4 separate regions of the Homo sapiens genome follow, and all the other regions are linked to region 3. Evidence: promoter capture Hi-C in 16 types of primary human blood cells and fetal thymus (Javierre and others, 2016). All regions are on one chromosome and are shown on one strand. The core of a region is centred on a gene start or on the middle of the fragment in contact, and the rest is flanking DNA. Distances in the headings are between cores, read along the strand shown.

Region 1 (2,700 bases), core at 1-2,500, 590 kb after region 3:
GGCAGCCTCGAGTCTCTGGCTAACTCTGAAACCTCAGACCTCTCGCTGTACTTGGTGGTGGCGGTGGCCGCAGTCTCCTGCATCTTCCTGGTCTTTGTCATCGTGCTGCTGGCACTCAGGCTGTGGCGCTGGCATAAGTCACGCCTGCTGCAGGCTTCTGAAGGCGGGTTGGCAGGTATGCCCACGTCACATTTTGTAGGCGTGGACGGGGTACAGGCTTTCCTGCAAACCTATTCCCACGAGGTCTCTCTCATTGCGGACTCGCAGAAGAGTCACCTGATTTTCCCCCAGCCCAACTATGGGGACACGCTCATCAGCCAGGAGAGCTGTGAGAAAAGCGAGCCACTCTTGATAGCTGAAGACTCAGCTATCATTTTAGGCAAATGTGACCCGACAAGTAATCAGGTGAGATTTATTTCTCTGCCTCCTAATTGTTGGTGTCTTGGCACAAGTCTTTTAAGGAGATGTTTTTTGAGCCTGTTATGAAAACTGTTTGGGGGGGGGGTGGGGCGGCATATATTTAGTTCATATATATTTAGAGCAATACATGTGAGTTTTACTTTGCCTTTCATGAGATTACGATAATCTTTCAGAACGTTTTTGTGAAAGTCATTTTTCAATCTTGGCATATTTTCTTTTGATTTCAAAGGGGCCATTCAACTATGCTGGTTTGGTTTGAAGTAAGTTGAATTTTAGTATTATTTTTCTATTATCAGTGTATGAGGCTCTCAATTTATTATATATAGATACAAATTAATGATTCACAAACACTTTTTATTTCCATTTCAATTTTGCTGTGCCTTCACTGATTTGTAGTTATATTCCACCATTATTTGCTATTACTGCTAATGTTCAAATTTTGATCCTGTTGATTTAATAGCATGCTCCCTCTAGCTCTCCTTCTCATCTATCTATCTATACACATGCACACACACTTATACACGTAAGCTTTTCTCTGAGCAATTTTATTTTGATTCTTGGTGGCTGGTAATATGCTTAGATCCTGTTGACTATTTCAACTTTGTCTCATTTCTTCATCCTATCAACACAGACATATTGACTGGCTTTTAACTACTGGATTTCCTTGGGAGATAAAATTTAGATCACATTTTTTCTTAAGCTCTAGATGTCTTTTCCATTACTATGGTGAAGTTACATTGACTGTTCTGAGGAAATAATTGAATTATTGAACTGGTATTATTTCCTTTTATTCTTTTACTTTGGTGTCTGTGTTTGTATGTATGGAAGGTTTTTTAATGTAGTAAATCCATATATAGAAATAACTTGATTTTGATTCAGTGCTTCTCAAAAACCTATTTTCAAATGTGCTAAAGATGTCTACAGATTTATTCAAATAGAGTAGTTTGTGAATATATAAATAGATTGAAGGTATTTGGACTTTAATTAAACTGATTTAGCTAGTATCCTTCTGGCTATTTTTTTGTTCATTTTCAGTGTAGTTGGGAGTCATAGATTCCTTCTTTCTTTCTTTATAAGGTCATTCTTATGGCAAATAGTACATTCAGTTCTTTTATTCAGACCAACTTGTTATTGAAGCTTGATAGTTGCCTGACATACATGTTATCTGAAGCAATGTCTAGGAAAGCCAAATGAGGAAAGGAGACTTATCTAGGGTTTTTGATCACAGGAATCATTTCCATAATCAATTCAGTCAACACTCTCACATCACTTCTAGGTATTTGCCCCAAATTACTTGGATATTTATGTTCCCTTTCAAGTTTAGTTTTCTCATTTAGGAATTTACCTTATGTCATTAGTTGTAAACTGACTATCTAGGGCTCGGACAAAAATAATTTCAACTGTAGGAAAGGCAAGTCTTCCAACAGATGCCTACATTTTTCTTGAAGTCAAGAAAAATGTTCAGGTATTTTGAGCATCTAGGGATAGGATTTATACTTGTGGAATTCCAAACTGAGAAAAATGATGTAAGGCATTGTACTTTGACTGGAATTAGTTAAATAAAAAGGATATGAGGTATTTGGCTGGGAAAAGGAGATTGTTCCATATTATAAAACCTCATCTAAACTAACTTCCCAAGATCGTGGAGAACAAAAAGGAAGGGTTGGCTTTGAAATGTGATATTAAGAGGGTTATGTTGATTCGGAGGTAGTGATAAAGTTCTGTTAAGGTATAACATATAGTCCCATTAAATAGAGGATAAAAATAAAACACCATCACATTTCATGTTATTAATTCCTATGGCAACCTACTAGGCTATACCTTTATATTCTCTTTATGATGAAACATGAAACAATAATCCTTTTCAGAAACCTCTTTTATAAGTGATAAGAAGGGTTTGGCTAACTTTATTCTGAATATGCCCTATATAGCTTTCAGTGCTCCTCCAGTTTTCTCTGATAAAACTAGGAGGAAAATTATCTGCACATCAGATTGAAAATAATACTGCATATCATTTCATAGTGGTCAAAATTTTCCCATACCACTTGATGGGGATGTTTTCCCACAAGGTTTTTGTTCTACAACAGGAGAGAAGACTTTGCCTAGTTCTTCCAATATGTGCATTGCTTCTGCTTAGAAAAAAACAAACTTTTAAATTCTCTTTGCTGGGTTAATGACTGTTCTATAGATTCCCATCTCTAAGGAATCTTCTTTGGTAGTAAACACTGGAAAACAGTCACTACGAAAACTCATAAAATGTCTAGTTTCCTATACATTAGT
Region 2 (2,829 bases), core at 239-2,738, 570 kb after region 3:
AAGATTCAAACTTCAGTTATCCACTTCCAAACCCTAGTAAACCAATTTTTTCCCTTTAATGGTGAAAGTTGTCACATCTTTTATTCTCATATCTTCAAAGGTCTTAATTTCCTAATGCTTTAATGTTAAATTATGGAGAATAGTAGGACATTCTTCTTTTCTATAGTATATGCTTGCTCAAGAGAAGTTTCTAAGACTGGACACTGTGAAATGACAAAACAAGGAATTAAAAATATTTCTCTCACTTATATATTATTTCTGGCTCAATTCTCCAACTTTTGAGTCTAGAAATGAACTTGCATATCAGATATAATTTAAGAAAATATTCTCAGGAACTGCTGGGAAGATTCTAAAACTATTTTACTGTTTTTAGCTATAAGGAAGAGAATAATGTATTATTTAATGTTATTTTAAACATAGTGTTGTTTCAAATAGTAAATAACATTTCACAAGACATTTGAAAATAAGCTTTGAAGTTGACTCAAAATTCTATGCTAAACATGTGATCCATAGATACACTGATGACTGCTGGCATTTCTGTGGAAATGAAGAATTGTTTTATTTGTTTGTAATTATTTGGGTTTCAGTTGCTTTATTTTTAAGAAAAAAAAGCTGAAGTGTCTGGGAATCCTTTATGACATACAGACATTTTAATTATTTCAAACACGTTTTCCCCCTTAAGTGGGTAGCAAAAAAAATAAAGCATACTTCAGGCTCATATTTTTAACCATGCAACAAGAAAATTGTTACAATTTCTGTTCTGAGGAGTAGCCTTCATACTTAGTATTTATAAATATTGAAATGTATGTTAATTTGGGGAAAACATAACAGATATCCATGAAGGCTTGTATGTCATGGTAGGTAGTTACTATTCGATACCACAAAAATGTCTCTTGCCCTTAAAACCAGAACACGAGGCTCACCAGACAGATGACTGAATGGAGTATGGAAAATCTTTATTTCTGTTTTTCTTAGGCTATGTAGGACTTAACTTATTGTGCATTGGTAACAGATTGTAGAACATAAGCTGAAAGATAAAATTCTTGACCTTAATGTCTCATCTTAAAAAGAAGCATTGGTTGACATTCTATATCTCGTATTACTTAAAAATAATGGGGGAGCGCAGTATATATTAAACAAAGATTGGCTTTGTGGTGATCATTGTTGAAGGTGGGGTGATGGCTATGTGAAGGTTCACTATATATACTCCCTACTGTTGTATAAGTTTGAAATTGTGCATAATAGATTTATTTAAAACACAAAGCATAGAAATATCTACTATAATATTATGGTGAGAGCAAAATTTGAGGGGGATGTACACCTGCATTTTCGAAGAATATATACATTTCGGAGACCGAATTCAAAATGAAAAACCGGGCTGCTGTCCCGCACGGAGCCTCTGGGCGCCGCTGTCGGCCAGTGCAGAGCAAGCGCTGACGCCGGGGATCCGTCAGCCTCTGGCCTGGGATTCCCTGCGCAGCCAACAACAGAAAGAAGAAAACCAGCTCCCACACAGAGCCTCCCGGCTGCGCAGACCTTTCCCAGCACAGCGGATTGCCAGCTCCGAGACCCGGGACTCCTCCTGTCCTGGGCCGAATGCTCTTTTAGCGCGGTAGAGTGCACTTTCTCCAACTGGAAAAGCGGGGACCCAGCGAGAACCCGAGCGAACGATGGGAGGGAGCTGCGCGCAGAGGCGCCGGGCCGGCCCGCGGCAGGTGCTATTTCCTTTGCTGCTGCCTTTGTTCTACCCCACCCTGAGTGAGCCGATCCGCTACTCGATTCCGGAGGAGCTGGCCAAGGGCTCGGTGGTGGGGAACCTCGCTAAGGATCTAGGGCTCAGTGTCCTGGATGTGTCGGCTCGCAAGCTGCGAGTGAGCGCGGAGAAGCTGCACTTCAGCGTAGACGCGGAGAGCGGGGACTTACTTGTGAAGAACCGAATAGACCGTGAGCAAATATGCAAAGAGAGAAGAAGATGTGAGTTGCAATTGGAAGCTGTGGTGGAAAATCCTTTAAATATTTTTCATGTCATTGTGGTGATTGAGGATGTTAATGACCACGCCCCTCAATTTGATAAAAAGGAAATACATTTAGAAATTTTCGAATCTGCATCCGCTGGTACACGACTATCGCTTGACCCTGCCACGGATCCTGATATAAACATAAACTCAATTAAAGATTATAAGATAAACTCTAATCCTTATTTTTCATTAATGGTTAGAGTTAATTCCGATGGTGGCAAATACCCAGAGTTATCTCTGGAGAAACTCCTAGACCGGGAAGAACAGAGATCTCATAGCTTGATATTGACTGCCTTGGACGGAGGGGACCCACCAAGAAGTGCCACCGCTCACATAGAAATTTCTGTCAAGGATACCAATGATAACCCCCCGGTTTTCAGCAGAGACGAATATAGAATTAGTCTTAGTGAAAATCTGCCCCCTGGGTCCCCTGTGTTGCAAGTGACAGCCACTGACCAGGATGAGGGGGTCAATGCTGAGATAAACTACTACTTCCGAAGCACTGCCCAGAGCACAAAACATATGTTCTCATTGGATGAGAAAACAGGTATGATTAAGAATAACCAGTCATTTGATTTTGAAGATGTAGAAAGGTACACCATGGAAGTGGAAGCGAAGGACGGAGGTGGTCTCTCTACCCAGTGTAAAGTAATCATAGAAATCCTTGATGAAAACGACAACAGCCCAGAAATAATCATCACTTCTCTCTCTGATCAGATTTTGGAGAATTCACCTCCAGGAATGGTTGTTGCCCTCTTCAAAACACGGGATCTGGATTTCGGAGGAAATGGAGAAGTCAGGTGTAATATAG
Region 3 (2,773 bases), core at 80-2,579:
ACTTAAGTGAGTATACAGAAAATTCCAAATGTACCTAGAAATGAGGAATAGTCCACTTTGGGTAAAGCACATGGTTCCCATAAGAGAGAGTGTGATATAAAGCAAGAAAAGTAATATGAGAAAAACCTTTTGTATAACTTTGAGTACTAGACGAGTAATTTTGACACTCTTCAAAGTCATTTGAAAGCTGTCAAAAAGTGTGAAGCAATACGAATAAAAAGTATTAACGGAAGATGACTGCAAGGATTAAATGAAGGAGAATGAAATAGGAATGGACAGGTTACACAATAAGAAGCTACTGCAATACACCAGGAGAGCAGCAATTATAAAAACTTATTTAGGAAAGCATCTGAATACAGACATAATTATTTTACATGCCATTGGGAACATTGGAGTGAAACATTCCAGAAAACGAACACAGTAAGGTAGATCCAAAAAGGATGAAATACCTCAAGACTTGATCAAAGGGCTGCTGTATGTGAGATGGCTGAGCACTGAAATTTATCTAATAAAATAAACTTACATTTTAAAAGAAATAATACAAATCATATTTGAGATTGTAAAAATAGGCATATATTCATAACACACAAGTGTTCGAAAGGATAGAATGAGGAAACAAATATAAAATGATGAACTCCTGAAACAGTATATATAGATTCTGCTAAAGCAAAAAATTCAGAATACTTCCTCCTCAAAAAGTTCACATGATACAAATTCTTCCCCTTCAAAGATTCCCCAAACCTTCTCTTATTTTGTTTTCCCAAGAGAAGTGTCTGGATAGTTGCTAATGTTTCTTGCCTCCTAAAAAGAAAACACACACACACACACCGCTTTCTAAGTTTCTCTTTCATCAATCAGTAGATTCTTGAGATCCTGGGTCCCTAAAAGAGTACAGGATTTTTCTTAACAAGCGATACTGAATCAAGAATATGAAGTTTCCTGGGATCTAGATCAAAGGAATTTAAACTTGCAGTTGTTTAAATTCATGTTGTCACTTAGGTTTCTATCTTTATTTAAAACTGTGTGAAAAAAAAGTTTTTCTAAGGCATGAGGAAGCTACAGTTCTGGTAACACTGAGTATTCAAAAGCCATCAGTCGCCTAAGAATGCTTCTAACAATCATGAGAAATGCTATTTTAACCTTTAACAACAATGAAGAAAAAAATTCAGAGTTTGAAATAAAACTTTTCATCTGATTAATAGTTTGTAATGGTTTGTAATTCTTACTTACATGATGGCCACATGATGTCGCTCTTTACCGCAAATTCTTTCGTAATCAGCAAAAGGAAGTCATTCCTTTTCGCACTGGAAAGACGCTCCACTCTCTTTCACTCTTTGGATGCACAACAATGGCCACACATCGAGATTGAAATGAAGGGATAAAAACATTCCTATAAATTCGAAGGCAAGTTTTGCTGACTAGAAAAACAAGCCAATAATTTGAAATGGTGTGCCCGAATGGATACGACCCAGGGGGCCGACATCTACTGCTGTTTATTATAATTCTAGCAGCTTGGGAGGCAGGGAGAGGCCAGCTCCACTACTCGGTCCCCGAGGAGGCTAAACATGGCAACTTCGTGGGCCGCATCGCGCAGGACCTGGGGCTGGAGCTGGCGGAGCTGGTGCCGCGCCTGTTCCGGGCGGTGTGCAAATTCCGTGGGGATCTTCTGGAGGTAAATCTGCAGAATGGCATTTTGTTTGTGAATTCTCGGATCGACCGCGAGGAGCTGTGCGGGCGGAGCGCGGAGTGCAGCATCCACCTGGAGGTGATCGTGGAAAGGCCGCTGCAGGTTTTCCATGTGGACGTGGAGGTGAAGGACATTAACGACAACCCTCCGGTGTTCCCAGCGACACAAAGGAATCTGTTCATCGCGGAATCCAGGCCGCTTGACTCTCGGTTTCCACTAGAGGGCGCGTCCGATGCAGATATCGGGGAGAACGCCCTGCTCACTTACAGACTGAGCCCCAATGAGTATTTCTTCCTGGACGTGCCAACCAGCAACCAGCAGGTAAAACCTCTTGGACTTGTATTACGGAAACTTTTAGACAGAGAAGAAACTCCGGAGCTTCATTTATTGCTCACGGCCACCGATGGAGGCAAACCCGAGCTGACTGGCACCGTTCAATTACTCATCACGGTACTGGACAACAATGACAATGCCCCAGTGTTCGACAGAACCCTGTATACGGTGAAATTACCAGAAAACGTTTCTATCGGAACGCTGGTGATTCACCCCAATGCCTCAGATTTAGACGAAGGCTTGAATGGGGATATTATTTACTCCTTCTCCAGTGATGTTTCTCCAGATATAAAATCCAAGTTCCACATGGACCCCTTAAGTGGGGCAATCACAGTGATAGGACATATGGATTTTGAAGAAAGTAGAGCACACAAGATCCCAGTCGAGGCTGTCGATAAAGGCTTCCCACCCCTGGCTGGTCATTGTACAGTTCTTGTGGAAGTTGTGGATGTAAATGACAATGCTCCACAGTTGACTCTCACTTCCCTGTCTCTCCCTATTCCAGAGGACGCCCAACCAGGTACCGTCATCACATTGATTAGCGTGTTTGACCGAGATTTTGGAGTCAACGGACAGGTTACCTGCTCCCTGACGCCCCGCGTTCCCTTCAAGTTGGTGTCCACCTTCAAGAATTACTATTCATTGGTGCTGGACAGCGCTCTGGACCGCGAGAGTGTGTCCGCCTATGAGCTGGTGGTTACCGCGCGGGACGGGGGCTCGCCTTCTCTGTGGGCCACTGCTAGCGTGTCCGTG
Region 4 (2,700 bases), core at 155-2,654, 520 kb after region 3:
AGATTGCTTTCTTGATTGCTCAGTAGTCTTGGCAATTTAATTTTCAATCTTTACTGTTGGCATTTCTGTATGGTTGGCAAATCTTGCTAAAGAGACCTGTTTCCTAGATGTTAACACTTAGTAATAGCAGTGCCTTTTCTTAGTTGATATGCAATACTATATTTTCAAGTCATTTTATTCTTAGCTCTTTATAAATGTATTTAGAGTTCTTCCCACCCAAGTTAAAGTTCATCAATTACATTAATTATGTAATTGATGTAATTATGTATTAATGTAATTATGTAATTAATGTAATCTTCATCAATTACATTCTAGTTTGTCTTTTTGCAGCAACATGTATGTTTAATACAGCCTTCCAATTATTAAGACTCTTAACACTTTGTCTCATCACAAGTAGCAAATATTGTCCAATTTTATATTTGCATCACTAACTTTGAGTCAATATTATTCCCACTCTATAATTTCAGTCAATGATATTTCATAATTTTCTTAACCATTCCTAAATTATTTGTTTTTATGCTCTTTCTATTTTGTCTCTATTAAAACAAAGAATGTAATGAACATTTGGGTTTATAAAGCGTTTTCCATACTTCTTGTTTCTTTAGTGTAGATTTCTGAGGAATTAGTTAAATCTATAAACATGTTGAGATTTTTTTAATGCATACTGTCAAATTTATTTCCAAACATCTTATTTCACCTCTCAATCATCCGCAGTTTGTGCGGTCTTTGAGGATTGTGAAAAACACGTTTAATCTACTCTCTCAAAGTCTGAGGGTTTTTAAATTCTGTATAGCTAATGCCCTTTTGTATGAGTCATTTCTACTGCTAATTGTTAAGTGAGGAATAAGCTTAAGAACTGATGTACTGCTTTATCTCAAATTTTCACAGATTAGTAAATTACTGTAAGTATTCATAAGAAAGAAAGCGATGGCACATGCAATGATAATCCATGTTCGGCTACCAAAACATTTCCTTTTACTGGCTATTTCTAAAATGAGAGCTAAAGTAAAGTTAGAAATTGTAAAATAATACTGAATGTGTCATGTGAAAAAATCACTAAACTATTATCTGCACTTTATAGTTATTCAGTCTAACTTTTCTTTTTATTTCTTTTTTATTTTTAAGATCAGAGTTATTTACCCATTGTTTTAGGCTTTGCATTTGAACTGGTCATTCATGAAACATTGAAAGGTTTCATAAAAATTACTACTCTATGAAAGGTATTGTTCTAAAGATTGAGAACACATTGTGAACAAGATAGTCATATGCATAGCTTGTGGCCAAGAATCTACTGTACACAAAATTAAGGAGCAAATTCTCTTCCCAAACCTATTATCCTATTTGTCAATCTCATTTGTACAGGGTAAGGCTAACTCTTGAACAGTAGGTGAGTTTTTTGCAAGGGAATTGAAGCATTGCCCCAGGTTCTAGAGGGTCAACTCCTGTGAGGAAACTTGTTACTGCATAAATTGGGACTAAAGCCAGACCTCCAAGTTCCTGTCCCACTGTCTTTTCACTTATCTGTCTCATCCATTTTTCAAGTCCACCTTTGTCTTTAGGAGAGATAATTATGTCCCTCACACAATACGCTATACTGAGAATGGGCTGTGGGGATGAACAATGTGAAAACTGAAAAGAGGAAGAACACATCTTAGGAAAAAAATCGTCATATTTTCTCTAAGAAAATAAATAACTTCATAAAGTTTATTGTACAGGAAGACTTGGATCATTCTTGAATTTTCATTGCAAATCAAAAACAGGAATTTGACTTTATTATCTTGGGAGAAATAGGAATAGAAAAGTGTATAAAAAATAAACTTTTTTTAACCAAGAATAAATTGCAGTAACAGGTTAAGACTCTGGGTGTCGCTGTTCACCAATCAGGGGGAAAAGACAAACCAGAAATTTAATCAGAATCACAAGATTTCTGCAGCACAAAGCACTGGCTCTGGAGCTTTATGAAAGCTTCAAGCGGAAGCCCTGAGAGCTCTGGCTGTGAATGCACTTTATTTTGGACCCAGAAGATCCTGGGGCTCCTCAGGCCTCGACAGAGGGAAAACCGAAGCACAGGCGACTCCGCGGCGGGGTTGTAATGGCGGCGCCTCCTGCTCGCCCAGACCACACCCGGCTGCTCCAGATCTGCCTTCTCCTGGGGGTTCTGGTGGAAATCAGGGCCGAACAGATTCTCTACTCGGTGTTTGAGGAGCAGGAAGAAGGCTCAGTGGTGGGCAACATCGCCAAGGACCTGGGGTTGGCGCCCCGGGAGCTGGCGGAGCGCGGAGTCCGCATCGTCTCCAGAGGTAGGACGCAGCTTTTCGCCCTGAACCCGCGCAGCGGCACCTTGGTCACCGCGGGTAGGATAGACAGGGAGGAGCTCTGCGACAGATCTCCAAACTGTGTGACAAACCTGGAGATTCTTCTAGAAGATACAGTGAAGATTTTGCGGGTAGAGGTGGAAATAATCGATGTTAATGATAACCCACCCAGTTTTGGGACAGAACAGAGGGAAATAAAAGTTGCTGAAAATGAAAATCCTGGGGCAAGATTTCCTCTTCCTGAAGCTTTTGATCCGGATGTAGGTGTAAACTCCCTGCAGGGTTACCAGCTCAACTCAAACGGTTACTTTTCCCTGGACGTGCAAAGTGGGGCCGATGGGATTAAGTACCCAGAGCTGGTGCTGGAACGCGCTCTAGATCGCGA

Evidence for each region. Contacts are between HindIII fragments. The CHiCAGO score rates a contact against its expected background, and 5 or more counts as called.
Region 1: a fragment that was not itself captured here is called in contact with the fragment with the promoter of PCDHA7 in region 3 in 1 of 17 cell types (fetal thymus); the score reaches 5.3 in fetal thymus.
Region 2: a contact is called between the fragment with the promoter of PCDHGB6 here and the fragment with the promoter of PCDHA7 in region 3, in 3 of 17 cell types (erythroblasts, fetal thymus and M1 macrophages). The highest score is 6.6, in erythroblasts.
Region 4: a contact is called between a fragment that was not itself captured here and the fragment with the promoter of PCDHA7 in region 3, in 4 of 17 cell types (M1 macrophages, fetal thymus, erythroblasts and 1 more). The highest score is 10.7, in M1 macrophages.

Annotation. Positions count from the first base shown.
Region 1 is chr5:141,423,256-141,425,955 of GRCh38, forward strand. The region is part of intron 1 of PCDHGA1 (protocadherin gamma subfamily A, 1); the gene reads left to right. The region is part of intron 1 of PCDHGA2 (protocadherin gamma subfamily A, 2); the gene reads left to right. The region is part of intron 1 of PCDHGA3 (protocadherin gamma subfamily A, 3); the gene reads left to right. All of the region lies in intron 1 of PCDHGB1 (protocadherin gamma subfamily B, 1), which reads left to right. It also overlaps PCDHGA4, PCDHGB2, PCDHGA5, PCDHGB3, PCDHGA6 and PCDHGA7, and 9 more genes. Among named protein-coding and RNA genes, the nearest start is that of PCDHGA11, 3.6 kb to the left of the region's middle. The HindIII fragment of the contact is 609 bases long and covers 947-1,555 here.
Region 2 is chr5:141,406,533-141,409,361 of GRCh38, forward strand. PCDHGB6 (protocadherin gamma subfamily B, 6) reads left to right here and starts at 1,489. Exons shown (of 4, transcript NM_018926.3): 1 at 1,489-2,829. The coding sequence starts at 1,671. The region is part of intron 1 of PCDHGA1 (protocadherin gamma subfamily A, 1); the gene reads left to right. The region is part of intron 1 of PCDHGA2 (protocadherin gamma subfamily A, 2); the gene reads left to right. The region is part of intron 1 of PCDHGA3 (protocadherin gamma subfamily A, 3); the gene reads left to right. It also overlaps PCDHGB1, PCDHGA4, PCDHGB2, PCDHGA5, PCDHGB3 and PCDHGA6, and 6 more genes. RefSeq lists an enhancer at 1,898-1,947. The HindIII fragment of the contact is 5,535 bases long and covers 467-2,829 here.
Region 3 is chr5:140,832,940-140,835,712 of GRCh38, forward strand. It overlaps PCDHA7 (protocadherin alpha 7), which reads left to right and starts at 1,330. Exons shown (of 4, transcript NM_018910.3): 1 at 1,330-2,773. The coding sequence starts at 1,445. All of the region lies in intron 1 of PCDHA1 (protocadherin alpha 1), which reads left to right. The region is part of intron 1 of PCDHA2 (protocadherin alpha 2); the gene reads left to right. All of the region lies in intron 1 of PCDHA3 (protocadherin alpha 3), which reads left to right. It also overlaps PCDHA4, PCDHA5, PCDHA6 and PCDHA@. RefSeq lists an enhancer at 2,623-2,773. The HindIII fragment of the contact is 15,813 bases long and covers 1-2,773 here.
Region 4 is chr5:141,353,109-141,355,808 of GRCh38, forward strand. All of the region lies in intron 1 of PCDHGA1 (protocadherin gamma subfamily A, 1), which reads left to right. All of the region lies in intron 1 of PCDHGA2 (protocadherin gamma subfamily A, 2), which reads left to right. All of the region lies in intron 1 of PCDHGA3 (protocadherin gamma subfamily A, 3), which reads left to right. The region is part of intron 1 of PCDHGB1 (protocadherin gamma subfamily B, 1); the gene reads left to right. It also overlaps PCDHGA4 and PCDHG@. The HindIII fragment of the contact is 1,117 bases long and covers 847-1,963 here.